Regions from separate parts of the Homo sapiens genome. Here regions 1, 2, 3 and 4 are each linked to region 5. Evidence: promoter capture Hi-C in human tissues and cell types (Jung and others, 2019). All regions are on one chromosome and are shown on one strand. Each heading gives the region's core, a stretch centred on a gene start or on the middle of the fragment in contact. The rest is flanking DNA. Distances are from core to core; before and after follow the strand shown. Region 1 overlaps LRP6 (LDL receptor related protein 6). Region 2 overlaps DUSP16 (dual specificity phosphatase 16). Region 3 holds the start of DUSP16 (dual specificity phosphatase 16). Region 4 overlaps LRP6 (LDL receptor related protein 6). Region 5 holds the start of ETV6 (ETS variant transcription factor 6).

What was found. The method cuts DNA at HindIII sites, captures the fragments that hold promoters and counts their contacts. A contact is called where the count stands out against the background at its distance.
Region 1: a contact is called between a fragment that was not itself captured here and the fragment with the promoter of ETV6 in region 5, in 2 of the 25 tissues and cell types used here (dorsolateral prefrontal cortex and mesenchymal stem cells).
Region 2: a fragment that was not itself captured here is called in contact with the fragment with the promoter of ETV6 in region 5 in 1 of the 25 tissues and cell types used here (hippocampus).
Region 3: the fragment with the promoter of DUSP16 here is called in contact with the fragment with the promoter of ETV6 in region 5 in 1 of the 25 tissues and cell types used here (hippocampus).
Region 4: a contact is called between a fragment that was not itself captured here and the fragment with the promoter of ETV6 in region 5, in 2 of the 25 tissues and cell types used here (hippocampus and thymus).

What each region holds. Positions count from the first base shown.
Region 1 is chr12:12,238,096-12,243,364 of GRCh38, reverse strand. The region is part of intron 2 of LRP6 (LDL receptor related protein 6); the gene reads left to right. Among named protein-coding and RNA genes, the nearest start is that of LRP6, 26 kb to the left of the region's middle. The HindIII fragment of the contact is 5,026 bases long and covers 572-5,269 here.
Region 2 is chr12:12,506,908-12,512,364 of GRCh38, reverse strand. The region is part of intron 3 of DUSP16 (dual specificity phosphatase 16); the gene reads left to right. Among named protein-coding and RNA genes, the nearest start is that of DUSP16, 53 kb to the left of the region's middle. The HindIII fragment of the contact is 5,128 bases long and covers 1-3,920 here.
Region 3 is chr12:12,561,613-12,566,879 of GRCh38, reverse strand. DUSP16 (dual specificity phosphatase 16) reads left to right here and starts at 4,017. Exons shown (of 7, transcript NM_030640.3): 1 at 4,017-4,763. RefSeq lists silencers at 3,708-4,217, 4,668-4,747, 4,778-4,897, 4,918-5,117. The HindIII fragment of the contact is 19,289 bases long and covers 1-5,267 here.
Region 4 is chr12:12,213,590-12,219,255 of GRCh38, reverse strand. The region is part of intron 2 of LRP6 (LDL receptor related protein 6); the gene reads left to right. Among named protein-coding and RNA genes, the nearest start is that of LRP6, 51 kb to the left of the region's middle. RefSeq lists an enhancer at 3,170-3,669. The HindIII fragment of the contact is 5,233 bases long and covers 1-4,803 here.
Region 5 is chr12:11,645,918-11,650,989 of GRCh38, reverse strand. ETV6 (ETS variant transcription factor 6) reads right to left here and starts at 1,316. Exons shown (of 8, transcript NM_001987.5): 1 at 830-1,316. The coding sequence starts at 862. RefSeq lists silencers at 964-1,123, 1,134-1,183, 1,394-1,603, 1,894-2,133 and an enhancer at 2,314-2,413. The HindIII fragment of the contact is 9,953 bases long and covers 1-3,747 here.

The DNA.
Region 1 (5,269 bases), core at 1,835-4,334, 590 kb before region 5:
GAAAAATAAAAATTATTAAATAACTCATTTCTAGTTAGCTAAACATATATTTGCAATAAAGGTTTATTTTCTAATGAGAAGGAAAACTTAAAGCTCTGAGTAAATCTCATTTCAGAGTGTGAACTGTATCCTCACATTGCTTCTCTGTTACTATGTCTCATTTCTACTATTAGTATACACCATTTTGTGATATTTCTTTATTGAATAAATTGTCATGGCTAGTCTGTCATGGCTAAGTATAGATAACTATCTGAACATGAACCTAAAATGACTAATATTTGGTTAAAATCCAAAGATAAATAACCTGTACTATTTTAATACTTTGTTTTCTTTAGCTTTCAGTTGTATTAGAATGCTTTAAAACTCATTTCACTTATAGAAAGGAGTGAATTCTTTTTATGTAATAAATGAGAACTTGGGGAGAATGGAAGAAAGGTTTATATGTGCTTCTTTATCTTGATATCAGGCCTGGTTACAGAGGTTGAACAGGATGCCATGTTGTAGAAAAATGAGAAGACTGATTTGACTGTAAAGGATTATGTGGGCAGTAGTATAGGGAAATTTTAGAGGGAGATGTCTGGAAATACAAATATGTATTTTTTAGAGTGAAATTAAAACGTGTTTGTTGAAGCAAGATGGTGCTCTTAAAGCACCAGGAAATATTGTAGTGGCTCTGATCGTAGGAAAAACGATTGGATGTCCTGAGGAGGAGGTCTCAGATGTAACTGTAGTTATCAAAGAATTTGGTTGTTGAGAACTTTATAGATATTTTTGAGAAACGGAGTTTGTGTTTTGCTAACAGAGTTTGTAAGGCTCAGAGGGTGTTGAAATGTTTCTGAGGTTACTGCTTTGTAGAACACATAGGATTTTGGTGCTTGTAGTCGTCATTAGGGAAGAATACCGTGGTGAAAAGATAAAGTTCTTTTTTCCCCTCTTCTTGACAAGTTCAATTTTACCACTGTAAGGGTGATGATTGAAATTTAATGAAATATCTGTTAAATGGTTATTATGTTCAGAGTTCTGCATTTTGTACTCTGGTTGGAGAGAGGGGGTTTGGTTTATCTTTACTGTTTAAGGACAGAAAACTTGGGAGAGACAACTTTTTCTTCTTCAAAGCATGTTTATTTGCATTATGTAACATGAATGTGAAGAGAGGAAGAGTGTTAAAATAATTAGAAGGGGCACAAGAGCTGTTATGAGCTTCATTACCAAATTTTGGAATGGGATCTTGATCATTTCTATAAGAGATTAATGATTACCTGATAGTACATTATTAAAGGGAACTGAATGTATATAGTTCCTCTTGACTCTTCAGGATCTAACAGTTCAGTGAGTAAATTAATCATTTTCATTTTGTTCCCCAAAACTAATGAGCTTTACTTCTGGGTAGCAGGTCTGATAAGTATCTTCTGAAGTAATTTCGCCATTTGATTAAAAAATACTTTAGAGTTTCTGTGGCTTTAATTTATCCTTGTTATTTCTCATTATTGAATGTGAGAATTCACCAAAGACTTAGCTGATAAAAAAGATTATTGGAAGAATCAGTAGCAATTTACTTTGAAGGTAGAAGGTAGTGTTATTTAGCTTCTGAAGGTGGTTCAGTGAAGAATAACTCTTTCTGTGGACTAAAGGCTTGGTCAAACACCCAGTGAAATATTTTGTATTATTTTTGATGTGTGTGGTTAATGTGGGAGGCAGAGGAGGGGAGAGTAGGGGAGAGAGAGCGGGTAAATTCAACCCCCCTCCCCAGCTTTAACAGTCCTCTCAAAATTTCTTTTAATTTTGAGAAGTCATTTTGTGTCATGGTTATTTTAAAAACGACTCAACTGGAAACAAATAGAATCTGGTCAAATGGTATATATACATTTGATATATGTACAAATGATGGAGCGTATTTAAAATTATATTTTAAACTCCTACACTGAAAAATATATTCATCAGATGATCTTTCAGTGTTAATGATCTTAGATTTGTATCGTGGATTGTGGTTTTAGTTGAAAAGTAATTATAGGTAGAGTACATCATTTGTCAAACAGAAGAGATGATTTCCAGATTTATTTTTTGGGGGAAATACGAAGTTTGAGTTCCAGACAAAGTACATGAAAACAGTGCTGAGGAAAAATGTAGACTTTTCAGAGTTCCAGGATCCTGGATTATGAGGTTCACAAGAGCTGATTGAGCTCTCTCATAGCAACTTACGTAAAGGGAAAGCTATTGAATGACTGGTATTGTTTGAGCCCTGGGAACTAGTGCAGACATCTGTGTGCTTTCGGATGTATGGAGTTCTTTGTGTAATCAGTCCATTTAGCCTAGACTGAAGGAAGATTTTTATTCCTCTCTCTAAATTTGGCCTCTATTATATTAGTCTGAGATTTTTTTTTCCTTATGATAATGACTAGCAGTATACAGTTCAGACTAAGCAACGGGAAGATGTGTGTATGAAATTGTTAGAGAAATGAACAACCAGAGTTACAGTAAACAGTTGTCTTATGTTACAGTGAGTAGAGGTGATTCCTATGTGGCTGCTCCTAATGCTGGAGCCCCTCAGTCTGATTCCACAGTTACCATGCTAAGCAACCGTACTAATCTTGGTGATGTTGAGGACCTGTGTCAAGTTTAAGGGTGTTTTGTTTGTTTGTTTAGGATCCTTTCATATTCCAAATCATTTTAGATTTTTTTTATAAAGTTAAACTTTAATGATTCAATTTGAAGTGAATTTATATTAAACAGCTTTGAATGATATTTATATTTTAAAAGTATGTATTTTTATTTATTATTTATTTATTTATTTTTGAGATGGAGTCTCACTCTGTTGCCCAGGCTGGAGTGCAGTGGCGCGATCTTGGCTCACTGCAAGCTCCGCCTCCTGGGTTCACACCATTTTCCTGCCTCAGCCTCCCGAGTAGCTGGGACTACGGGCACCTGCCACTTTGCCTAGCTAATTTTTTGTATTTTTAGTAGAGACGGGTTTTGCCATGTTAGCCAGGATGGTCTCGATCTCCTGACCTCATGATCTGCCCGCCTCGGCCTCCCAAAGTGCTGGCATTACAGGCGTGAGCCACTGTGCCCGGCCATAAAAAGATTCTTTTTGTATGGAAAGTGGAAAATGTAGCCAGTTACATTTAGGCAGATTATATAGATTCACATATGTTTGGAGATGAGGTTTTTTGAGATCATTATCTAAAAAATAAGAGTGATGTGTTAGAAGAACCACTGATCTTTTCGGGAAATCTGGATTATGGGTTTAGCTTGAATGGCATATGAATCAGGGTCTTGGAAATTAAGAAACAACAAACTCGTGGTGTGTGTCTCTTTGTGTGTGTGTGTGTACATGTGTTCTCAAATGTTAATGTAGGGTTTTTTTTTTTTTAATATCTTAACTCTCATCCAGTTTTAGTTTCTTCATATCAAGTAATATCCATCACCGTGTCTCAAATTAATAAGTTTCAATTGTATTGTCTACTTTTTTATGCTCCATATCTCCTAGCATTTATTGAAGGAATTTTGAAGGGGAGTAGTTGTAGTATAACTGAATGCCTTTACATAACACAGTATTTTAATAGCTTTGCTTTTTAATAAAAGCTTTCTTTGCTTGTAACATTGAGCTTTTCATTCATCCTTAGTAGAAGATTGAAACTTGGTGATTATAAAGAAAAGGATACCTTCCTCTGTATGGCTGGAGATGAAAAAAAAAAAAGAAAAAGAATAGGGTACCTTTATGAGTATAGGCTGCCTGCACTTGGGGATTTTGTCTACCTTCGATGTATTCCAGAGTTGATGACTCTTCAGAAATTACAATGAATCTTTAAGATTTTGGAAGGAGGGGTTTGTCAGCTAATTTGTGAACTAGGAATAAAATATGACTGTTTTTATTTTTGTAACAATTGATATTGATACTATATTTCTTTTAGAAATTTTCACTTAAGCTTATTGAGTTTTGTACTGTTTCCATTGTCCTACCACTTGGACCGTGCCTTTCCTTCCTCCATCAGCTCTTTAAAAATGGAACAGTTTAAAAGTGCATTATTTTCTTTGTTCTTTTTCTGAGATCATATCCGTTTCCAGTTGGCTTTTGCATAGAAGCAGATAGCCAATTATTTAAAATCTAAAGCTTTAGACTGGATCTTGCTTTAAAGCACTGTCCCTGTGTATGAAGGATCTTGGTGTAAACAACTTACAGTTTTGAAGGATGTTCTGTTAAATTGGGAAGGTCTGTTTTCTATCCCTTGAATCCTAGAACTGGAAGGGAATCTTAAGGATCCTCTAGCTAAATGCCTTCCTTCCCTTCTTTGGGTGAAGAAACCAAGGCCTTTGACCAAGATAAATGAGAGGGAGCTATATTCTTAGTTGAAATTTTTGAATTCCGTGTTTGGTGCTTTTTTTCTTTGTGAAAGGTATCTTACTGAAGCCATTGTTTTTTGTTTTTTGTGTTTTTTTTACGAGTTGAATTACTTTAAAAAATTGAACATGGTAGCTTTGTTTAAAGGACCTTTTAAAATAAGTTTCATGTTTTTAGGTTTACTCAGTGTAGCAATTTCTTATTTTACCATTGCTTTTTGCATCCCAGTTAATCCATTTGGATTCAGCTTCCTTTTGTTTGAAGTATGCCCTTCAGTGTTTCTTTCAATAAGCGTCTGTTAATAGTAACTCTTGGTCTTTGTCTAAAAATGTATTTATTTTGCCCTCATTCTTGAAATGATAATTAGTTGAGTATAGAATTCTACGTGATTAGTTATTTTCACTCAGACCTTTGAGGGTGTATGGCTTTAATTGTTGGTACGATTAAGTCTGTATTGCATTGTAATTTATCATTTATCTTTTTTAATATTTTTGTGGTTTTTAAAAGCTTCTCTTGATTTTTGGTATTTTGCAGCTTTGTCTACCCTGTGTCTAGATGTGGATATATTTTTATTTATCCTGGTTAGGATTCATATTTCTAGAATCTAAGCATTTTTGTCGTTTGTTAATTCTAGAGAATTCTTATCCTTTTTTTTCTTAATTTTCCTTCGTTCTCCTTAGTCTCCTTTGGAACTCTTGTTTGATATGTGTTCCTTTCTAATTCCCTGTTCCTTTCCTCTTAATTTTGCTCTTTTATCTTCTCTCTCATTATTTCTCTGAGCCACTTTCTGTTTTTTTTTTTCTTTTGTACCTGCCATCTAGATACAAAATTCTTTCTTCAGCTGTGCCTAACTTTGCAGTTTAACATGTTAATTGAGGTTTTAATATCAGTGACTATATTTTAATTTTTTTAGAAGTTCCTTGTGCCCCC
Region 2 (5,457 bases), core at 107-2,606, 860 kb before region 5:
TGCTGAAAGAGTAGATCTTAAGTGTTCTCACCACAACAAAAAGAGCATGGCTATGTGAGGTAAGGTAGTCATTCCAAGTGTATATGTATATCACATCATCATGCTGTACACCTTAAACAGATAAAATTTTTGTTTGTTAATCATACTTCAATAAAGCTGGGGAAAAAGGTGCTGTTTGCTCACTGGCTGCTGTGTATTTCTGGCTCTGTTTCTGAGTCTCAGTTGGCATGAATTCGTCTAAATTGGATCATCTTTTCTCCGATTGCTATCTGCCAGTGTGGAGAGTCAGTCATGTCTCTTCCCAGCTACCAGTGGCTAAGACACATGCTTGAGATTGTCTTTTGAAACAAACAGACTAGAGAGCCAACTAAAGCTTAAAGATAGTCCTTTGGTTCCCCATCCTGATATTGTGCACAAACCAAACAAAAGCATCCCAGATGACAACAGTGACATCAATCTTCCCTTGCCCCAGGTGGGGCAGCTGTGTAGTCTAGAGAAACACCAGGTCCAGCATATTCTTCAGCCCTTTCACTCACTCAGCCTCTCAATATTTGATGGGTGCCTCCATGGCTGTGCCTTGGACTGGGCTCTCGGGGGTGAAGATATTGGAAAAGCAAAAGGCTTGCCCCTGCCTTTGAGAATGTAGTGGTTAATTTGGGGAAATGCACCTAAAGTGGATGAAAGAAAGAGAAGTATATGATCATTTGCTAAAATGTATGATACAGTGATAAGGGATGATTCAGAGTAGTCTGCAGAAGTCAGGGAAGACTTGATTAGGGCAGTGGAATTTTAATCAAACCTTGAAAGATGAGGAGTAAGATTTGGGTAGGGAGGGTTCTGCGCATTCTGAGGGGGAAAGAACATGATTAAAAATGTCAGGAATGAACATAGATTTGGAGGGGCAGTGAGCAGACCAGAGTGGATTTTTTGTGAAGGAGAGAAATGGGAATTGAGAGGACATGAGATCAAATTATGTAAGCTCTTTAAATCAGAAGGAAGAATTTGTACTTTAAGGTGATGGGTATTGTGAGCTATTGGAGATATGGCTGCAATACCTGTCATCTCTTAGTCACCAGATCTTTCTTCCAACCTCTTCGGTCTGTCTGGTTTTCTGGTCTTCTGCTACCATGAAGTCAGTTGAATGTTATTCCTCCCCCAGGTTGCTCCAGGAGCCTCTTAACTGATCTGTTCACATGCTCTGTCTTGCCACCTTCCAATCCATTGCTCACACTGCAGCCAAAGTTACATTTTTATTTTGTGTTTTTAACTAATTCAGATTACATCACTTCCCAGTTTAATATGCATCAATAATATGCAGTGCTCTTAAGATAAGTTACAAAATTTTTAACTGATTCACAAGGCCCTGCAGTGGCTGGCTTCTGCCTACCTTGCTAACTTCATCCAGTGCCACTTTAAGTCCTCAGTTGTTGTTTTGCCTCAGCTCCTTAGGCCTCCTCCCTGTTGCTCTAAACCTAAGACATCATGCACCCTGGGCCTTCACAGAGGCTCTGTCCTCTGCCCTGGGCTCTTCTCTCTGCTATTTACCTAGTTGTTTTCCTGCTAGATTCAATGTGGTTGTCAAGCCTTCCCTAGCTACCAGGCAAAGTTGGTTTCCATATGCCTTTGGCCACTTACCATAATTAGTTAATTATTCATCTAATTATTTGGTTAAAGTTTATCCCATAAAACTGTCAACTCCAGAGAAGGCTCTCTGTCTTGGTCACCACTGTTCCATTACCTAGCGCTATGTCAAACTCATAGTAGGTGCTATTAAGTGTTTTTTGAACTTATATGTGAAACGCAGTTATCCCTTTCTCCCTCACTGCTCTATGACGTCTCTTGTCAAAATGTGTAGTTGGCCAAAGAGGAGGACTGTACACAGAGTGGAATATACAGAAGTGGTCTTAGGGGAGAGCCTGTGGCTAGATGGCTTAGAAAGCTTTGCGCTTCACATGGATAGCCTGAGAAGTGAGCTGTATAGTGTGATTCATGGACAGTTTACAAGTTAGTCAGATTTTATTCTTGAATAATTCTCCAGACACTAGACTTGTATTCCTTTTTCCTCTTGACTCATCAAGTTTCCCCTATGGATAATCTCATTTCATTATCCATTTTGATGATGATTATAGACATGTCCAGCAGCCACACCATCCTCATCTGGGGTATAATCATAGTTGGTGTCTCATTGGTTTCCTATGGGATGTGCCCTGATTCCCTGAGCCATGGAGATATATTACGGGACTCTCCACACCGGTGTGGAGTCCTGCGCCATTTAGGGGCATCAGAAAAAATTTTCTTTCCCTTTTATGTAAAGTCCTGTGGATACAGCAGAATCATAGTAAGGATTCAGTGTCGCTTTTGGATAACCAAAGTGACACTCGCCAATTTTATCTTTTTTCCTGTAGTAGAAGAAAAAATGTTTTTTTCTTGCCCTGTGCCTCCTCACTCACCCTGAGAGTCTTCTGGGGCATTGTGGTCTAGGAATAGGAAGCAGATTTTGTGCCCCCACCCACACCAACTAGCTTTTGGCTTTGAATGGAATCAGGAAATCCTTCGGAACACCAAAAATATACAAGACTTATGTCCATCAACAGCTATTCATTGTAACAAGGAAGGATTCAATAAACATTTATTGAATTCTAATTATGTGCCAGGCACTATGCTAAATGCTGAGGTAATTACAAAGAATTATGGATAATTCTTATCCATAAGCAGCTCACAATAGCTGGAGAAGTAAGACGGGTCACAACACATACACAGTTATTTCACAGTTACTAGGTCAGTGGTAGGTACTGCCAAATGATTGGTATAAATTTTATAGAGCCTCTAAGCTGGACCATGTCTAGATACGCTGCTCAAGGAAGTTTGTTTTTTTTTTTTCTTTAAACGCAACAGAATTAGGGAAGATAGTATCATGAAACTTTTGTCTTAGTGGTGAGTATGTGTAGGTGTTCAGAGGGTTTGAGTGTAAAATGTATTTTGTTGATCCTGGTAAAAAAATTTTGGGACCATACTGCTATAGAAGAGGTGTAACTTGTGCTTGCCTGTGGTTTAGAAGGAAATACAAAATGGATTGGAAAGGTTGACTTTTCAAAAGCCTAAAGGCGGGAAAGCACAGATGTGTTAGGAAAATAGTAGGGAGACTCTGTGACTCTGGCTCTCCTACCTACAGAGCTTGTTAATTCTGTTCAGCCAAGTGGTAGATTCTGGCTGTATTCCTTTTGATGGGTTATTCTGGTTGCAGTCTTTAGAACAATCTTTGTTTCAGGACGTTTAAGAGGAGTTTTTCTGGGCATAGTTATGTATTGCCAATTTAAAAGATCAGCAGAATAGTTACCAGTCTACATCTTCTGAGAACTCTTCCTTCTTGAATAACACATCTGGATGTTGCTGATGGAGTTGATTTAAATATTATCCTGAGTTATAAGATCTGGACATTCTGAGTCATAAGAAATTATAAGTTGCATAATTTTAGTGTTTAGTGATTTGTCTGCTGGTGCTTTGAAAATTTTTCATTCATTTGTTGTGTATGTCATAACTGTTGTGTATGTCATAACTGTTGCATATGTCCTAATACCAAAATTAGATAGAATTTCCCATTTCCCAACTGTGTCACGTGATAGGGTTGTTTAATATAGGGCAAGCTCTTTTGGAGGTGTCATTTATGGGATAAGTTTTGTGAGATGTAGGCTACTTGTCAGCCTTCCTGAAAGAGAAATGCGTATCTATCCACTCTCCTCTTGGTCTGTGCTCCAGTAGATGGGGGTGGATGGAATAAGAGCTTTAAATTAATGCTTTAGATCATTTGGGATTTTTCTCTTTAGTATGGCTCAATTGGAGAGTTGGCTATATGGGAAAAGGTGGAATGCTGCTAATGCTGTGGAAAAAATGCTATGCTCTCTACCTTCCTAGGAGTAATTTACCAAACCTGTGTGGCTTGGCTTATCCAGACCAAAGTATCTACATTGAAACATTAGTTACATATTTTGTTTGCTTTCTTTAGGGGTATGAAATTATGTTGCTTTTTTTTTTCTTTTCTTTTCTTCAACTAGTTTCAACTCTCCATGTTTACTGTCTGCTGATCCCGAAAGAATTGTGACCATACTTTAGTCTGTTTTTGAGTGTCTAGAGAATAAAGTTGCCTAAATCAGACATGTCAGACTGAGGCATAACAGAATTACTCTTAAGAGCAATTAAAGTACTTTACTGCAAAATAAACATTTTCAGTATTTTCCATTTTTAATGTTAGAGTTGTCTCCTTTGTGTGATGGTAAAGCAACAGATTTTCTTTCCAGTATGGAGAGAAGAGAGAACTGTCCTCTACAGGTGAAGGTGTACTCTAGTTTTTCACATATATTCTAAAATAAGCAAATGAAAGGATTGTGTTTATGTTACAAAAAGGGAGTTTTGTTTTACAAAAGAATTAAACTACTTGAGAACTACAAAAGAATTTAATGGCTGGGCACGGTGGCTCACGCCTGTAATCCCAGCGCTTTGGGAGGCCAAGGCGGGCTGATCACCTGAGGTTGGGAGTTCGAGACCAGCCTGACCAACATGGAGAAACCCCGTGTTTACTAACAATACAAAATTAGCCGGGCATGATGGCGCATGCCTGTGATCCCAGCTACTCGGGAGGCTGAGGCAGGAGAATTGCTTGAACCCGGGAGGTGGAGGTTGCGGTGAGCGGAGATCGCACCATTGCACTCCAGCCTGGGCAACAAGAGTGAAACTCCATCTCCAAAAAACAACAACAACAAGAATTTAACCGCATAGTTCAAAAACTGTGAAACCATATGAACTATATGCAGATGATTTAAAATACAAAAGTTAAATTTGCATATGACTTTTTAGGAAAATGTCTTCCATAAAGTAGAGCTTTATATCAATATTATTTCTTTGTATAACCATGGAATCCATTCACAATATAGGGTGGGAGGGCAGTTCTCTTTGATTCTGCCTTCCTTGAAGGCGGCTCTGCCAGTTGATAAATCCCTAGTGACTTGCTCCCTATTTAAATGAAGGCATGAGTGGAAAGGCCCTCTGTCTCTCCCTGCAGGAAACCATCTTTAAAGTCATGGAACTGCTAAAAGGAGAGGGATCTATTTTTAGAACTTTGGCCTTAAAAACATTTTAAGAATATCAGTAAGCCACAGTAAAGTGCTACTTTTGTTTATTATGTAAATATACTTTCATTTAAAGAAAATACTGTGATATATAACTGATTGCATGGGTGAGAGGGAAGAGAAAAGAGTGACTAATTGGAATTGTTTAGTAGAGTTGTTATATGTATTTTATTTTACTTGGCAGATTTTTCCCCCCCAAAATGGAATGGTGGTTCACGTTTGCTTTTACAGAAAATCATATTTATAATTGGAATTGTGAAGGAGGTGATCTTAAGGGAAGACGTTTTCATGGCTGAATTAGGAGAAGGTGTTATCTAAATGAGGAATGCCTTAG
Region 3 (5,267 bases), core at 2,768-5,267, 910 kb before region 5:
CAGAGGGGGATTTGGCAGGGTCACAGGACAATAGTGGAGGGAAGGTCAGCAGATAAACAAGTGAACAAAGGTCTCTGGTTTTCCTAGGCAGAGGACCCCGCGGCCTTCCGCAGTGTCTGTGTCACTGGGTACTTGAGATTAAGGAGTGGTGATGACTCTTAACGAGCATGCTGCCTTCAAGCATCTGTTTAACAAAGCACATCTTGCACCGCCCTTAATCCATTTAACCCTGAGTGGACACAGCACATGTTTCAGAGAGCACAGGGTTGGGGGTAAGGTCACAGATCAACAGGATCCCAAGGCAGAAGAATTTTTCTTAGTACAGAACAAAATGAAAAGTCTCCCATGTCTACTTCTTTCTACACAGACACGGCAACCATCTGATTTCTCAATCTTTTCCCCACCTTCCCCCCCTTTCCATTCCACAAAACCGCCATTGTCATCATGGCCCGTTCTCAATGAGCTGTTGGGTACACCTCCCAGACGGGGTGGTGGCCAGGCAGAGGGGCTCCTCACTTCCCAGTAGGGGCGGCCGGGCAGAGGCGCCCCTCACCTCCCGGACGGGGCGGCTGGCCAGGCGTGGGGCTGACCCCCCCACCTCCCTCCCAGACAGGGCGGCTGGCCTGGCGGGGGCTGAGCCCCACCTCCTTCCCGGACTGGGTGGCTGCCGGGCGGAGACGCTCCTCACTTCCCAGACGGGGTGGCTGCCGGGCGGAGGGGCTCCTCACTTCGCAGACGGGGCGGCTGCCGGGCGGAGGGTCTCCTCCCTTCTCAGACGGGGTGGCTGGGCAGAGACGCTCCTCACCTCCCAGACGGGGCGGCGGGGCAGAGGCGCTCCCCACATCTCAGACGATGGGCGGCCGGGCAGAGACGCTCCTCACTTCCTAGATGGGATGGCAGCCGGGAAGAGGCGCTCCTCACTTCCTAGATGGGATGGCGGCCGGGCAGAGACGCTCCTCACTTCCAGATGGGGCAGCCAGGCAGAGGGGCTCCTCACGTCCCAGACGATGGGCAGCCAGGCAGAGACGCTCCTCACTTCCCAGATGGGGTGGCGGCCGGGCAGAGGCTGCACTCTCAGCACTTTGGGAGGCCAAGGCAGGCGGCTGGGAGGTGGAGGTTGTAGCGAGCCGAGATCACGCCACTGCACTCCAGCCTGGGCACCATTGAGCACTGAGTGAACCAGACTCAGTCTGCAATCCCGGCACCTCAGGAGGCCGAGGCTGGCGGATCACTCACGGTTAGGAGCTGGAGACCAGCCCGGCCAACACAGCGAAACCCCGTCTCCACCAAAAAAATACGAAAACCAGTCAGGCGTGGCGGTGCGTGCCTGCAATCGCAGGCACTCAGCAGGCTAAGGCAGGAGAATCAGGCAGGGAGGTTGCAGTGAGCCGAGATGGCAGCAGTATAGTCCAGCTTCGGCTCGGCATCAGAGGGAGATCGTGGAAAGAGAGGGAGCGGGAGCGGGAGCGGGAGAGGGAGAGGGCTGTTTCCACATATTTATTGTTAGTATGTAGAAAACCTTTCTTAGTAAAAGAAAGAAATGTACTCTTCGGTGAAGTAAACTTGTTTAGTGGTTTCCCCTTCACCTGCTGGGCAGGTAACAATCTATTTATTCTAACATTCAAGTACCTCCACAATGTGCCTCTGTATCTCTTAAATTTAACCTCATACCTAATTGCTAAATACCGATTTCTACTGCTACTGGGTTTACTCTTCTGTCACTTGAATACACCTTACTCATTATTCATTCCACCTCCATGTCTTGGCTCATTGCCATTTGCCCTCTGGAATCTTCCCTCCACTGGCTTCTTCACTGCAAACTAAATCTGAACTGTCCTTCAAGGATAAGGTCAAAACTCTTTATAAGGTGCCTTCCCTGATAATCCCAGCCTACATTGCTCCTTTTCTCCCCTGATGTTTTTTTTTGTTTGTTTGTTTTTTTTTTTTTTTTTGAGATGGAGTCTCACTCTGTTGCCAGGCTGGAGTCTGGAGTGCAGTGGTGCGATCTCGGCTCATTGCAACCTCCACCTCCCGGGTTCAAGTGATTCTTCTGCCTCAGCCTCCTGAGTAGCTGGGACTACAGGCGCCCACCACCACGCCTGGCTAATTTTTGTATTTTTAGTAGAGACGGGGTTTCACCATGTTGGCCAGGATGGTCTCGATCTCTTGACCTCATGATCCACCCGCCTCGGGCCTCCCAAAGTGCTGGGATTATAGGCTTAAGCCACCACGCCCGGCCCCCTGACTCTTTTAACCAATATTGTACATCACTCAATCATTGATTTCGTTTTTAATGAGCTTTAATATACGTCTTGTTTCCAGAAATAGATGAAATACCCTGAGAGACTTCTATGATAGCTATGATGGCACCACATCATACATTACACAAACTTAATTGTGTAACTGAGGAAAGGGGAGAAACGTTTCAAGCCATGTCAGTTAAAGCAAGGTTACTGGAACTTTGGCATGCAAAGGGGATACCATTAATTCTCATGAATCTTTCCTCCAGGCAAGATCCATGCTCTGTACCACTAGTAAAAGGACTATCTTCTTCTTCCTTCCTAAAAATCCCAACACCTCCAACAAAGGTCTACAGTTAGATTTTTAGGGGTTTCCTGGTAGAGCACAAATAATCCCAAGGAAGCTGCAGTAACACCTCCTGGCCACCAGAGGACAGGGAGCAGTGGGAGAGATTTGCTTCCCCTAGCAAAGTCTTCAAGAGGCCAGAGGCACAGGCTCAAAGTTGCTTCTCCATCTGTGGCCTTCAGGCTTTACCTACTACTGCCAGAGGTGCTAGGGTGCCTCCCATCTTCAAATGGGCTTTTTTTTTCCCTCCTATAAAAGATGGGCCAGAAGTTCCCAGGGCCATACCCCGCAACACTAACCTTCAATGATTACCAATCATAAGGAATGCCTTTAGTTGCAGGACTTAAAGGCAGAAAAGTAGTAACAGGGGTGTATTATCTTTCGAACCCACCCAAACCTGCTTATCAGTTCTTTTGCTAGTGGAAAAACGTGCTTTAGGCAGGGTGCACATGGATATCCCACAGCAAACAGTGCCTTTAGGGTCTAGTGTCCCAATCCGGCACATTGTAAATGGAATATTTGAAGAGTTAGATTATTCCTACACATAAATTCTGGCTCATGGAGCAGTCCACTCGCAGGGTGCTTTTCCGTCATTAATCACATCTTTGTTATGTGATATCCACGTGAGTACTTCTCAGTAGAAGCAGCTTCATGCTCAAATGCTCAAAGAACATTGGAATAAAGCTCCGATTGTCCTATTCAGTGATTCCAAGTCCTGGTTTGTCACCACCTCAGGTCTCTCGTTTTCCAAAGTGCATAATGTCATCTCAAAACAGACATTTTAATGAATTCAAATAATAAAATGCACGAGGTATGTGGAGTTAAATCAACAAGGGTTTTGTACCTCTCAAGAGGCGGTTAACCCCTGGTCTTATTTAAAGATGTTTCTGCGCTGCCTCCTGTAGAAAACATTTTTAAAGAAAATGTAGGCTGCTTATCCTTGTATTTGTAAATATAAGCAAAGTAAAGTAATGTAGGAACATTTATGTGGGGGCTTTCAACCATAAACATATAGATAGCTGAATGCCTGACAACAGTAGTGTGATTTTTCTTGAAGTACCTGTAACTTCTCTCCTGAGAGATGGCAGAGCCTTGCCTTTTGCATTCGCCAGACTTTTTACAGAGCGAGTGTAATTCTCTCAAATCAGTGTTTGCGTTTTTTGACGTTGGTGAGGCAGCTGGAAACAGCTCAAGGAGGAGGGAAAGGTTCTGCGTCTGGGTGAGGGAGAAAACCCTCCGATACCTGTTGGGGCGCAGCACTGGAGGCGGACACCCCGGCCCGGGGGTCGGGGCCGCGAGCCCGGGGGTAGGGGGCGGGCGCGCGGGCGCGGGAGGAGGAGGAGGAGGAGGGAGAGGTGGGGGAGGAGGCCGCGGGGCCGCCTCCTCCGGCAGCTCCGGCTCCTCCCAGCGGCGCCCGCGGAACCTGCCTCAGAGTCGCCGGACTCTGGAAGGGAACATGACCTGACCCCTCCCCGAGCGGCCGGAACGAGGCGCGGAGCCGCGCTCCGGGCTCGGGCGGCCGCGGGATGGGCGAGCGCGCGGCCCCGCCCGGCGCCCACCGCCCTGCCCTCGCCTGTCTCCTCCTTTCCCCGGGGCTCCGCTGAGTTCATTCACTGGGATTGGTTTCAAGTGACGCCATCTCTTTATTTTTAAACCAATGACCTCATCCGCGCTTGAAGTTTCCTGACCAGCGACTCTTTCTCTTTCCCCCAACCCCCCACCCCACCCCCCCGCCTTTCCCCCTCTTTCTATGTATCAGTGTTTGGGGGGCTTTAATCAGTTTTTAAACGATTATTACCACCTCTCTCTCCCCCCCAACCCCCACTTTCACAACGCGGCCCCCCACCTTTACCTCCCTAAGTTCTTCATCTCTTTCGACATTTTTTTTGAAGGCTGATGGGGGGGAGGGTGGAAGAGAAAGAGTGAAGAAAAGTTGCGAGCGTCTCCTCTCTTCCTAAGCCTCCCGCCCCAACCCACCCCTCAGAGAAGGAGAAGATAATATACTGAAAAGAAGAGGAGGAGGAGAGCGACGGGACGGGACGCGAGCGGGAGCGCAGCCGCCCTCTCGGCTCCGCGGCGGCGCCTCGCAAGTCCGGGAGGCGAGGGGGGCCCGAGGGGAGACGCCGTGACAACTTTCGTTTCCCTCTGAGGGAATTGGGAGGTCGGCGGCCCCAAAAGTAAGTGGCCTTGGCGGGCCGCGCGGGGTGTGCGGGCGGGAGGGTGCGGGGCCCGGGGCGCCCTCCCGCCCGGCCGCATGGACGCTCCGCAGCGCGCCCCGACTCCCGGTGCCGGGCGCCGCGCTCCAGCCCCGCCGTCTCTGCCTTCCCGGGCGTACCGGCCACCCTTTCGGGAGGCGGCGTGGGGGCGACCGCGGCCGGGGGCCGCAGGAGCGTTTGAAGCGGGGGTGTAGGCCTGGCCGGAGGCTGGCCGGAGCGGGAAGGGGGCGTGCGGCCGGGCGCGGGGTCGCAGTGGGTGCGCTCCCGGCCGCTGCGCGGCGCTTGGACCGGGCCCCGCCGAGAGGAGCGGCCGCCGCGGGACGCGGCACCTTTGCGGGCGAAGCTGCTCACTTCCAGGCGCGACTGTTACACAACACGCCTGCCAAGTGGGGCCCTGGCCTGACTGTTCCCATTATCCCCAGTTCGCCTTTGGTGTAAGCAGCGAGGCCACCTGGGTGGTGACGG
Region 4 (5,666 bases), core at 938-3,437, 570 kb before region 5:
TCCAGCCTGGGCGACAGAGTGAGACTGTCTCAAAAAACAAACAAACAAAAACCAAAAAGGGGTAGACAGTTAAGAGTATAAAATTTGTAACTAAAGTGGGCCCTACAAGTAATCTGTTGTTATTTTATTGTATTTGAGATGGAGCCTTGCTGTGTTGCTCAGACTGGAGTGCAGTGGTGAGATCTCGGTGCGATTTCACCATGTCGGCCAGGCTGGTCTCAAACTCCTGACCTCAGGTGATCACCCGCCTCGGCCTCCCAAAGTGCTGGGATTACAGGCGTGAGCAACCACACCCAGCCCCACATTGTTTTTTAAACTTGCTCTACCATTTTTATATTTCCACTAGCAGTGTATGAGGGTTTCAGTTTCTCTCTTTCCTGCAATATTTGCTATTCTTTGTCTCTTCCTGGTTTTTTGTTTTTTAAAGAGATGGGGGTATTGCTCTGTCACTTGGGTTGGAGTACAGTGGCATGGTCATAGCTTACTGCAGCCTCAAACACCTGGGCTGAAGTGATCCTCCCTTCTCAGCCTTCTTTGTAGCTGGGATTACAGGTGTGAGCCTCTGTGCCTGGCCCTCTCTCCTTTTTTAAAAAGTTATAACCATCCTAGTGGGTGTATAGGCATGTCTTATTGAGGTTTTGATTTACATTTCCTTACTGACTGATGTTGAACATGTTCTGTGCTTTGACCACTTGTAAATCTTGATTTGTGAAATACCTATTTTAAAATTGTATAGTATTATTATTATTATTATTATTATTATTATTATTATTATTATTGAGAGAGGGTCTTGGTCTGTTCCCCAGCCTGGAATGTAGTGGCATGATCATGGCTCATTGCAGCCTCAACTCCCTGGGCTCAAGCGATTCTCCCATTTTAGCCTCCTGAGTAGCTGGGACCATAGGTGGGTGACACCACACCAGGCAAATTTTTAAATTTTTTTGGTAAAGATGGGGGTTCTCGTTATGTTGCCCAGGCTGGTCTTGAACTCCTGGACTCAAGTGGTCCTCCCACTTTGGCCTCCCCAGTCGCTGGGACTATAGGTATGAACCACTATGCCTGGTAAGTCCTTTTATTATTGAGTTCTAAGAGCTCTTTATATATTCTGGAAACCAGACCTTTGTCGGACATACGATTTGCAAATACTGATTTCCTGTTCTGTGGGTTGCCTTTTCACTTTCTTTGTGGTATCTTTTGAAACACACATATAATGGAGTTTTGGGATGAAGTCTGATCTGTTTTTTTCTTTTGTTGCTTGTGGTTTTAGTGTTATATCTGTGAAACCATTCTTTTAATTCTGGATCATGAATATTTACTCATTGTCTTCTAAGAGTTTTATGGTCTTAGCTTTTACAATCAGGTCTTTATCGTTTTTGAATTAATTTCTGTATGTCCTTTAGAGGTCCAGCTTCATTGTTTTGCATGTGGATATCCAGTTATCCCAGCACTATTTGTTGAACAGACTGTTTTTCCCCACTGAACTGTCTTCACATCCTCATTGAAAGTCAATCGACCATAAATATAAGGGTTTATTTTTGGATTTTCATTTCTTTTAAATTTATCTAGATGTCTGTCCTTATGCTAGTATCACACTGTCTTGATTACTGTGGCTTTGTAGTATGTTTAGCAATAGGGAAATCTGAGTCCCTATAGCTTTTAAAGCTAAGAGTGTCTCGTAAAGCAGTGGTCCCTTACCTTTTTGGCACCAGGGACTGGTTTTGTGGAAGACAGTTTTTCCACGGACTGGGCTGGAGGGATGGTTTCAGTATGACTTAAGCACATTACCTTTATTGTGTACCTTATTTCTATTATTATTACATTGTGATGTATAATGAAATAATTATATAACTCACCATAATGTAGAATCAGTAGGAGCCCTGAGTTTTTTTCCTGCAACTAGATGGTCTTATCTAGGGGTGATGGGAAACAGTGACAGATCATAAGGCATTAGATTCTAATAAGGAGCACGCAACCTAGATCCCTTGCAATGCGCAGTTCACAATAGGGTTTATGCTCTTATGAGAATCTAATACCTCCACTGATCTGACAGAGGCGGAGCTCAGGCAGTAATATGAACGATAGGGAGCGGCTATAAATACAGATGAAGCTTTGCTCACTTGCCTGTTGCTCACCTCCTGCTGTGTGACCTGGTTCCTAAAAGGCCATGAACTGGTAGTGGTCTCTGGCTTGGAGGTTGGGGACCCCAGTTATAAAGGATTTGTGTTTACATGATACTGTATTTTATGAAAGGCAGTCTGGTAGCAATAGGCAGGATACTAGAGCCGTGAGAAATGAGGAACCAAAAGCAGAGAAACAAATTAGAAAGGCTCTTATATGTCATGCTAAGAAGTTTGGGATTCATGCTGAAAGTAAGGAAATTACATAATCCCAGATTGCAGGGGCAGGGGGAGGGAGGGGGAGGGTGTGTGGGAGGGGATGTGGTGGTAATATAATCATTAATTTCAGAGTATTCTGGAAAATGGCCTTAAGGGTAGGGGATGGGAAGTCTGGAAAGAGGCTGTTTGGATTATCCGTTAGTTTTATTGGGGCTTGAGAAAACAACCTTTAACAAAGCTTTTCTTTTCTTTTTTTTTTTTTTTAAATTTTAAGTACAGAGAGAAGACCACATCCAAGAAAACCCTATAACAAAATATCAGAATTTGTGAACAACTGTCATTCTACCTAACGGTTGCAGAAACTAAAAATCCTGAGTCATTCTAGGCCCCCACCTCCTCACTCCTCACATTTAATCAGTTACCAATTCTTGTTTATTCTGCCTTCTAAGTAGCTCTTGGATTTGTCTTCTCTTCTCAAATACTATTTACATTGTTTTCAGGCCCTCATATTTTTCAGCTGAATAAAAAGTATAATTGGCTATATTATTATCATTTTTTAAAACCTCAAATTTAAATCATTATAAAACAATGTTGCATTATGGCCATTGTGGGTAACAAAGTCACTTTGAAATGTGCTGGAAGATCCAGGACATTCAGAAATCTAATAGCTTTTGGCTTATGATAGATAGAGGGGTCTCCAAATCTTTCTGTCTTCTCCCTGTTTGTGTGTGTCTGTGGGTGGATTTAATTAAGACAGAAGAAAGTGAAGTAAAAGTCTGTTGCAGCGAATTAGGACCAGAGGAGAGGTATAGAAGACCATAACCGCTTTGAAGATTTTGAAAAAGATGAAGCAATTAGGCAGATACATTAGTCTATCACACAAATAGATCATTATTATTATTATTTTTTGAGGCAGTTTCCCTCTTGTCGCCCAGGCTAGAGTGCAGTGGCCCCATCTTGGCTCACTGCAACCTCTGCCTTGTGGGTTCAAGTGATTCTCCTGCTTCAACTTCCCAAGTAGCTGGGATTACAGGTGCTCGCCACCATGCCTGGCTAATTTTTGTATTTTTAGTAGAGACGGGGTTTCACCATGTTAGCCAGGCTGGTCTCGAACTCCTGACCTCAGGTGATCCTCCCACCTTGGCTTCCCAAAGTGTTGGGATTACAGGCATGAGCCACCACGCCTGGCCACAAATAGATTCTTAAAAGAAAACTCTGATCTTTAATACCTGAAAACACTGTCTACTGAAATCTTAAATCTTAGTCCTTGGCCAGGCACGGTGGCTCACGCCTGTAATCCCAGCACTTTGGGAGGCCGAGGCGGGCGGATCACCTGAGGTCAGAAGTTTGAGACCAGCCTGGCCAACATGTGAGGCTGAGGCAGGAGGATTGTTTGAACTCGGGAGGCAGAGGTTGCAGTGAGCCGAGATCGCGCTATTGCACTCCAGTTTGGGCAACAAGAGTGAAACTCCGTCTCAAAATGAAATAAAATAAAATAAAATAATCTTAGTCCTTACTGATTAAGGCCATTAGTAATAGTAAACAACAGTACTGTTTTTATCAGACTATTTTTATTATTTTTTTTCATTATTTCTGCACAGTTTGCTGTCCCCTCAAATCTCAGGGATCAGTGGGAGAACCTGTGATATTTATTTCCCTGTGATGTCCTTCCCTCCTCAAACTTTTCCTTATTAGGAAGTGTTTGTAAAAATGTTAACTTTATGTTTATTTGTAAGGATGTCAGAAACTGCAAATAAAAATGAGTTACCAAAACACCAGGGGTTTGGTCTAGGTCATGCTGCTCACTGCAGAGAAAGCCAGTGACTGAGACAACAAGTATTGCCATGGGTGCTGCAGCCAGGAAGATGAGAACTCAGTCTCAAACCATCTCCCTGAGTGACTAAAACGAAGGGTTCATATAGCAGGGAAGAAATGTAAAAGAAACAGGAACTAAGGCGGGCCAAGGAAGCAATCATGATGAATGAGTTGTCTAGCATCTTATTGTCTGTCTGAATGTGGTGATCTGGTGAGTTTCAGTTATTTGATACTTTGAGCAGCCTGAAGGTCATTTCCTGAGGAAGGAACTCAGGTAAAACAAATGTAAGATTCAAGCTTTAAGACCAGAAGGGTCAACTTCTATGTTTATCCAAAACCTATCTAGGGAACTAATGGGTTGGTTTCAAATGGAGAAAACGCATTCCATATTCCCCCAACCAGGAAAACTATTTTTTCTATGCTTGCTTACAGAAATAGGCTCTGATAGTTAAAGGAAAAAGAAAGTTCTCACATGACTTAGAAATTTCAAATAAATGCAACCAAAAGATTAGTCTTAGCATATTTTACAAATCAGATCATGAATTTTAAGCTTTTGCCTTTTAAGAATTAAGCTTATGTATTTATTTTGCAGGAATGTGTTTATGATGATTAAAGACTTCAGGTTCTTACTATATAACATAGTTGATTTATGAGATATCTGAAGAATGGGTTTTTAGTAAGCTGACTGGGCCTTTGAATGGCACATTGTATTCACCTGTTATGAAAAGGAAGCTTATCTTTACTGGTAAGGGGGTGTTAGGTTTAACATAAAGGAAGTATTTGTATCCAGTGCTTGTAAATATTAACTGAGATGTTTTATTAAAGAATAAAGGAAAATTTCCTTTTTCTTGTTGAGTAAATGCTATTTTGTCCTAAATTTTCTCTTGTAATATACCTGCATCCAATAAATATTCTTTTACTTATGACATATTTTTGAAAATGTGTTTTGAGAGTGGGGTGCTGCTTGGCTTCTTGGTTGGTTACTGTTATAAAATAGGTATTAGCAGGGAGTTTAGATGACTAAAAGACCCCATGGGGTGGGTAATGGTAAAAGTCTAAGAGAAGATGATAAATATGAAGAACTGTCCTGCAACCAGATCAGAGCAGAAGGGTCAAAGCCAGTAGGAAAGACACTTTTCTTTTATATAAAGTGTCTTACTTTAATCCTTACATCAACTAGTGAAGTATTCACTTTGCAGATGAAAATTAAAACTATGGTCACATGATTATCCAAGACTGGTATTAATAGAGCTAATGTTAAATCTATGAGACATTATTGGTGTAAAAAATAGATATTAAACAAGTAGATTAGGAAAATACTGTACGTTACAATTTGTAACGTGATAAAAGGAGTGGGAATCAAGAGGGAAGGGACGTCATACTAGAAGAATTTACCGTTAGGAAAGAAAAAATCAGTTTATATCAGTATCTCATGTCATACTTCAGATACATTTTAGATGGATAAAAATTTTTAAGTGAAAACTTAAACATCAAATGAAAACGTGAATGTTTAAT
Region 5 (5,072 bases), core at 67-2,566:
ACACAACTACTGGGTAGCCCAGCAGTGTGTTTACAAACATCTACCGCCCTGCATTTACAGAGTGCTGCTTAGATAGCCTCTCTGCACTGTCAAACACAGAAGGTCATTTTGCCTGGTTGCTTAGTTCTTCCTCTCCCTCCATCACAGGAGTTTTCTACTTTGGGATTGCTCAACTTTCATATGGATCGGAGTAAAATAACTATTCAGCAACTTTATTCACCTTGGTTTTAAAAAAAAATTCATTGTGCAATGCCTAGGAAAAGCTGACACCAGGACTGTCTCTCCGACAGCGCTTGCAATTACAATCAGACGAGGGGGAAAAAAATCCTGTCTGATCAGACCCAGAGAGTCCTTTAAAAAAATAAAAAGATTCTATCGCAGTGGAAACTGAACAACTTTTTTTCTAAGACGACCACCCCTCGGGAACAAAAGTTATATTTCAGTCACATGTTGGGTGTAGGAATAGGGAGCAGGTTTTTTTTTTTTGTTTTTTGTTTTTTTTTTTTTTAAGCGCACTAATTACGGGGGTGTTTTACGGTTCTGGAGACAATCCGGGTTGCTCTGACCAATTGTGACCGGCATTTCATTGTCAAAAAGCAAGGGGGTGGGGGCCGAGGAGCCGGCAGGGGCTCGGCGGTGGGGGGGAGTAGCAAGGTTACGCTAAAGGGTACAGCAGCCACCGCGAGCTGCATCTCTTTCCCTCTCGCCCCAAATAATTTCCTGCGAACAGAGCAACTGCAACAGCCTGCTCTGAGGAGCCCAGCACGACTGCCCTGGCCGGTGCAGCTCAGGGTTTCCACCACGTAGAAGGAGGGGAGAAGATTTTTACCTTAATGCTACACTGAGCAGGAGTCTCAGACATGTCTCACAGCGAGAGAGATCAGGAAGTTCTCAGGTTTTTTCCACTTTCCTTTCCTCTCCCCAACCCAGAAAGGCTCCACGGCCAGCCAGACGCGGTCATTTAAGAAGTTTCTTCCAGCATCTCTCCCGGCAGCCGCCCCGGGGGTCTGGAGCGCGCGGGGCGGGGCGGGGCGGCCGGCGGAGTTGGGCGCGCGGGGCGGCGGGGGCGTGGGAGACGGGCCCGAGCGCGGCGGCGGGGTCTGCAGGTCGCGGCGCGGCGCGGGGACCCGGGACGCAGCCCGGCCGGCCTCCCGGTCTCTCCTCCCACCCGCAGCCGGCGCCCCCGCCCCCCGCCCTCCCGCGGCTCTCCCTCGCTCTCTCGAATGTTTTCCTTCCTGGAAGAGAGAAACTGAAAGGCAGAACTGAGAAAGCTCTTTGCTCATTGATCTTGAGAGTTTCAGTGCAGAAACTGACGTGAATTCCCAGCACTGAGCTCTGCCTCTTAAAGGAGCCACCAGGAAATAAAAGCTCGGGTTACAGCCCGGCATCGGGGAAATAAAAGCTGCGCGGGGGAGGGGCGGCCGCGGGGGCGCGGGCGGAGGAAACCCGGGTAGCGGGGCCGCGTGGGGCCGCGGCTGCGAGCGGGGCGAGCGGCGCAGCCCCCCAGGCCGGCCCCCGGTGCGGGCGCCCGCCCTCCACGCCGCGAGACCTCCCGCTGGCCGAGCCAATTTCCGGGCTTAAGGAAGACACCTTTAAAAAACGTTACATTGTGGCCCCAGACACCACAAAACAGGTTTTATTAAACTCCTCCCACCTCCCCTGGCTCCGTCTCTTGGATACATCGATGTGCACAAGGGTTTTGAAACGTTTCACTAAGCGCAGATGCAACGAAAGTAATTATCTATGAAGGGCCATTCCGGTTAGGACGCGGAATCCGAAGGAGGAAATAAAACAATAGCCTTTGTTCTGCTTCTCGACCGCTGCCTCTTTAAGAGAATCCACCAGGAAATGGGAGATCGGGTTACAGCCTGCACACGGGGAAATGTGGGGAGAGCGGGCGCCCGAGCGCGACGCCGGAGACAAAGCCGGGGCGGCCGCGCCGCAGACGCTGGGGGACCGTCGGGCGGGGGGATTCCCGGGGAAGGTGGGCGCCCCGGAAAGAGGTGGCGCCACGCGCCCGCTCGGGGATGCGGCGGCCGCGGGCGCTTCCCGAGCCGAGCACGCGCTCCGGGAAGGGAAGGCTGCAGGGCAGTTATCAAAGGCAGCTGAGTTCCTTTTCCTGACCTCCCCCTCCTGTTTCGAAATCCACTGCCCTTTTAAAGAAATAGCGGCCGCTACCAACCGAAATAGGTGACTCGACTACAAAGTTGGCAGGACGTGTTCCTGCAGATAATACCCCTCCCCAGGACCGCTTCTCTGAAACCGTCATTGGCCGGTTGATTGGATGGCCCTGGGATCCTGCAGGGGGAGGAATATTTGGTTGGAAAAGCAGTTGAGGGGGGTTAAGGCCGTTGGGGCTGAAGGGTCTAGCCCTGAGCACAAGTGATCTGATCACTCTATTATTTTTATTATTATTTACACTCTCTTAAAGTGTCCACCACAAAAAACTGAGAACATTATCATTATACTTAAATTCTAACCTTGTTAGCACATATTGGGGGTTTAATATGTGGATGTGTAATGTAAAAGGAAATTTGTTATAATTTCTTAATAGAGTAATATATTAAATATGGTATAAATATGTATATACGCATATATACCCATATATGTTACCTGCACTGGACCAGGACACATTTCCCCGAGTCTCCCCACCCTACAGATTTTTCCTACCCACTTTCCTTCACCTCTTCACATTATCAAATGTGTTGAGACTTGTACACACAATATTTTTGTTCACACATTGATCAGATCATTACGAACGAGGCTAGGGTGGGAAAGAGTGCTGTTGCTGGGATGATGGGAACTGGTGGTTGTGAGCCTCCAGGAACCTGAACAGGTTTTGTCAACTGGTAGTCCTGCCCTCTCTCCAAGAGATCTCTGTCTTGTCCACACCGACTCCTCTGCCTTTGACCACCCCCTTCTCCCCTTTAACAATTTTCTGTATTCTTTTGCTTTTTTTTTTTTTTTTTTAAGACGGAGTCTGCTATGTCGCCCAGGCTGGAGTGCAGTGGTACGATATCGGCTCACTGGAAGCTCCGCCTCCCGGGTTCACGTCATTCTCCTGCTTCAGCCTCCCGAGTAGCTGGGACTACAGGTGCCCGCCACCGCGCCCGGCTAATCTTTTTTGTATTTTTAGTAGAGACGGGGTTTCACCGTGGTCTCAATCTCCTGACCTCGTGATCCACCCACTTCGGCCTCCCAAATTGCTGGGATTACAGGCGTGAGCCACCGCGCCCGGCCTCTTTTGCTTTTCTTAATTGATGTTGCAGACATTGGTTTAGATGTCCCATTGCTAGGTTATGTCTTCCACATCACTTAGCAATGTGATCCCTGACAACACAGTCACTAAGCTTCTGTAAAATGGGGAGAAATAGTACCTAGCTCATAAGATTATCTTATTAAATAAGAAAATATATACAAATGCCTCCTTAGCAGAGAGCTGCACAATATATGTGCTCAATTCAAGTTGGCTACAATTATTATTTAACCCCAGGACTAAATTAGTTCTCGACTTTTCTTCCTAACTCCTCCTCAACGTCTACAAGTGATTCATAGAAGTAGTAGTTTGAAGTAGAATGTTTGTGGTTCCAAAGCAAAAAACATAGTTGACAACTGTAGCAAAAACTACATTTAGACCAGGGGTTGCCAATCTCTGTAAAGGGCCCAGCTGTAAATGCCTTAGTCTTTGTGGGCCAAGAGACAAAATTGAGAATGTCAGGTAGATACTTATATAACACGAAGAAAAAAAAGTCCACAGTTTTTTATTTTGTCAATTCAAAGTGTAATAATAGCAATTTTAATACAGGTATAATAATGAAAGGCATGGAATTCTTTTGGGGGGAAAGTAACATTTCACTTGGTGTTCAAAGTGTTCTTTCATAAAAATTGACTGCAGATGTTCATCTATTAATGCTGATTTTTTATGAGATTTTATGTACTTCATTTTTGAAATGTCTTTCTACCCAGACAGATACCGCCAAATACTGATACCAACCCATGAGCACATGATTTTACTTGAGTGTATTCATTGCTTAGAAGGCATTTCTAAAATTCTATTAGAATTCTATAAATTCTCTTGATATTTCCCCTTTAGCATGCCATTACATTGCAGATTAATCACTTCCAGTTGAAGGTTAAATGGAAGCTTCTCAGTTGCACAGTTAAGTAAATTTTAAATATGAAAATTTCCTTTGCACTTGCATTGAAATTCAGAAAACACTGTTGGTACTGTAGTTTGAGTTCAGAAAAACATAACTGCTGCAAATTTGTGTTGGAATGGAGATCTTGCTTCTTGTTTTAACTTTTGACAGCATGAGAAGTGTGTAAAACAGCTTGACATTATTTGTGATTCAAACAATGTTAGTTGTGTCAAAATGATTTTACTGCAGTTTAAGTTTTGCATATAAGCTCTATTTTGCCTTGTAGTTTTAGGTTAAATTCATAAAGAAACATTATTGAGTCTGTAGTAAAAGCTTATTTGCAGAGCCATTCAGTGTTCAATAACAGTGGTTGAGGGAAGTTTTTCTCATTCATTCATTTCCATTTGTCGCTTGTTTCTCTGTTCCTTGTTTTCTGAGAACTTATGGGTAAATTGGATTTTTTTCTTTCATATTCCATTTAAATTACTAGATTGTCTTTTTAGATTTTCTTCTTTATGTTAAATATGGTGGTTGCTTTAGAAATTACAATTTGCGTATGTTATTATCACAGGCTACCTTTAAATAATATTATTCTATTTTATGAATCTGTAAAAAAGTTACAATGTAATTCCATTTATCCCTCTCCCATCCTCTGTATTGTTGTGTTATATTTTACTTCTATATGTTATAAAATTCATTTTACATTGTATTTTTATGGTATTTAGAAATTTGTAAATATATGCATATAATGAATGTATTAAAGTATGTCTCTTTTTAATTTGCCCAGATATTTATCCTTTCTAGTACTTTTTTATTCCTTTTTGCAGATCTGGTTTTCCATCTGGTATCTTCCCTTTGGCCTCAAGAACTTCACTCAGCATAGCCTGTGTGCTGTTTGTTGGAGAAGTCTCTCAGCTTTTGTCTGCCTCTAAA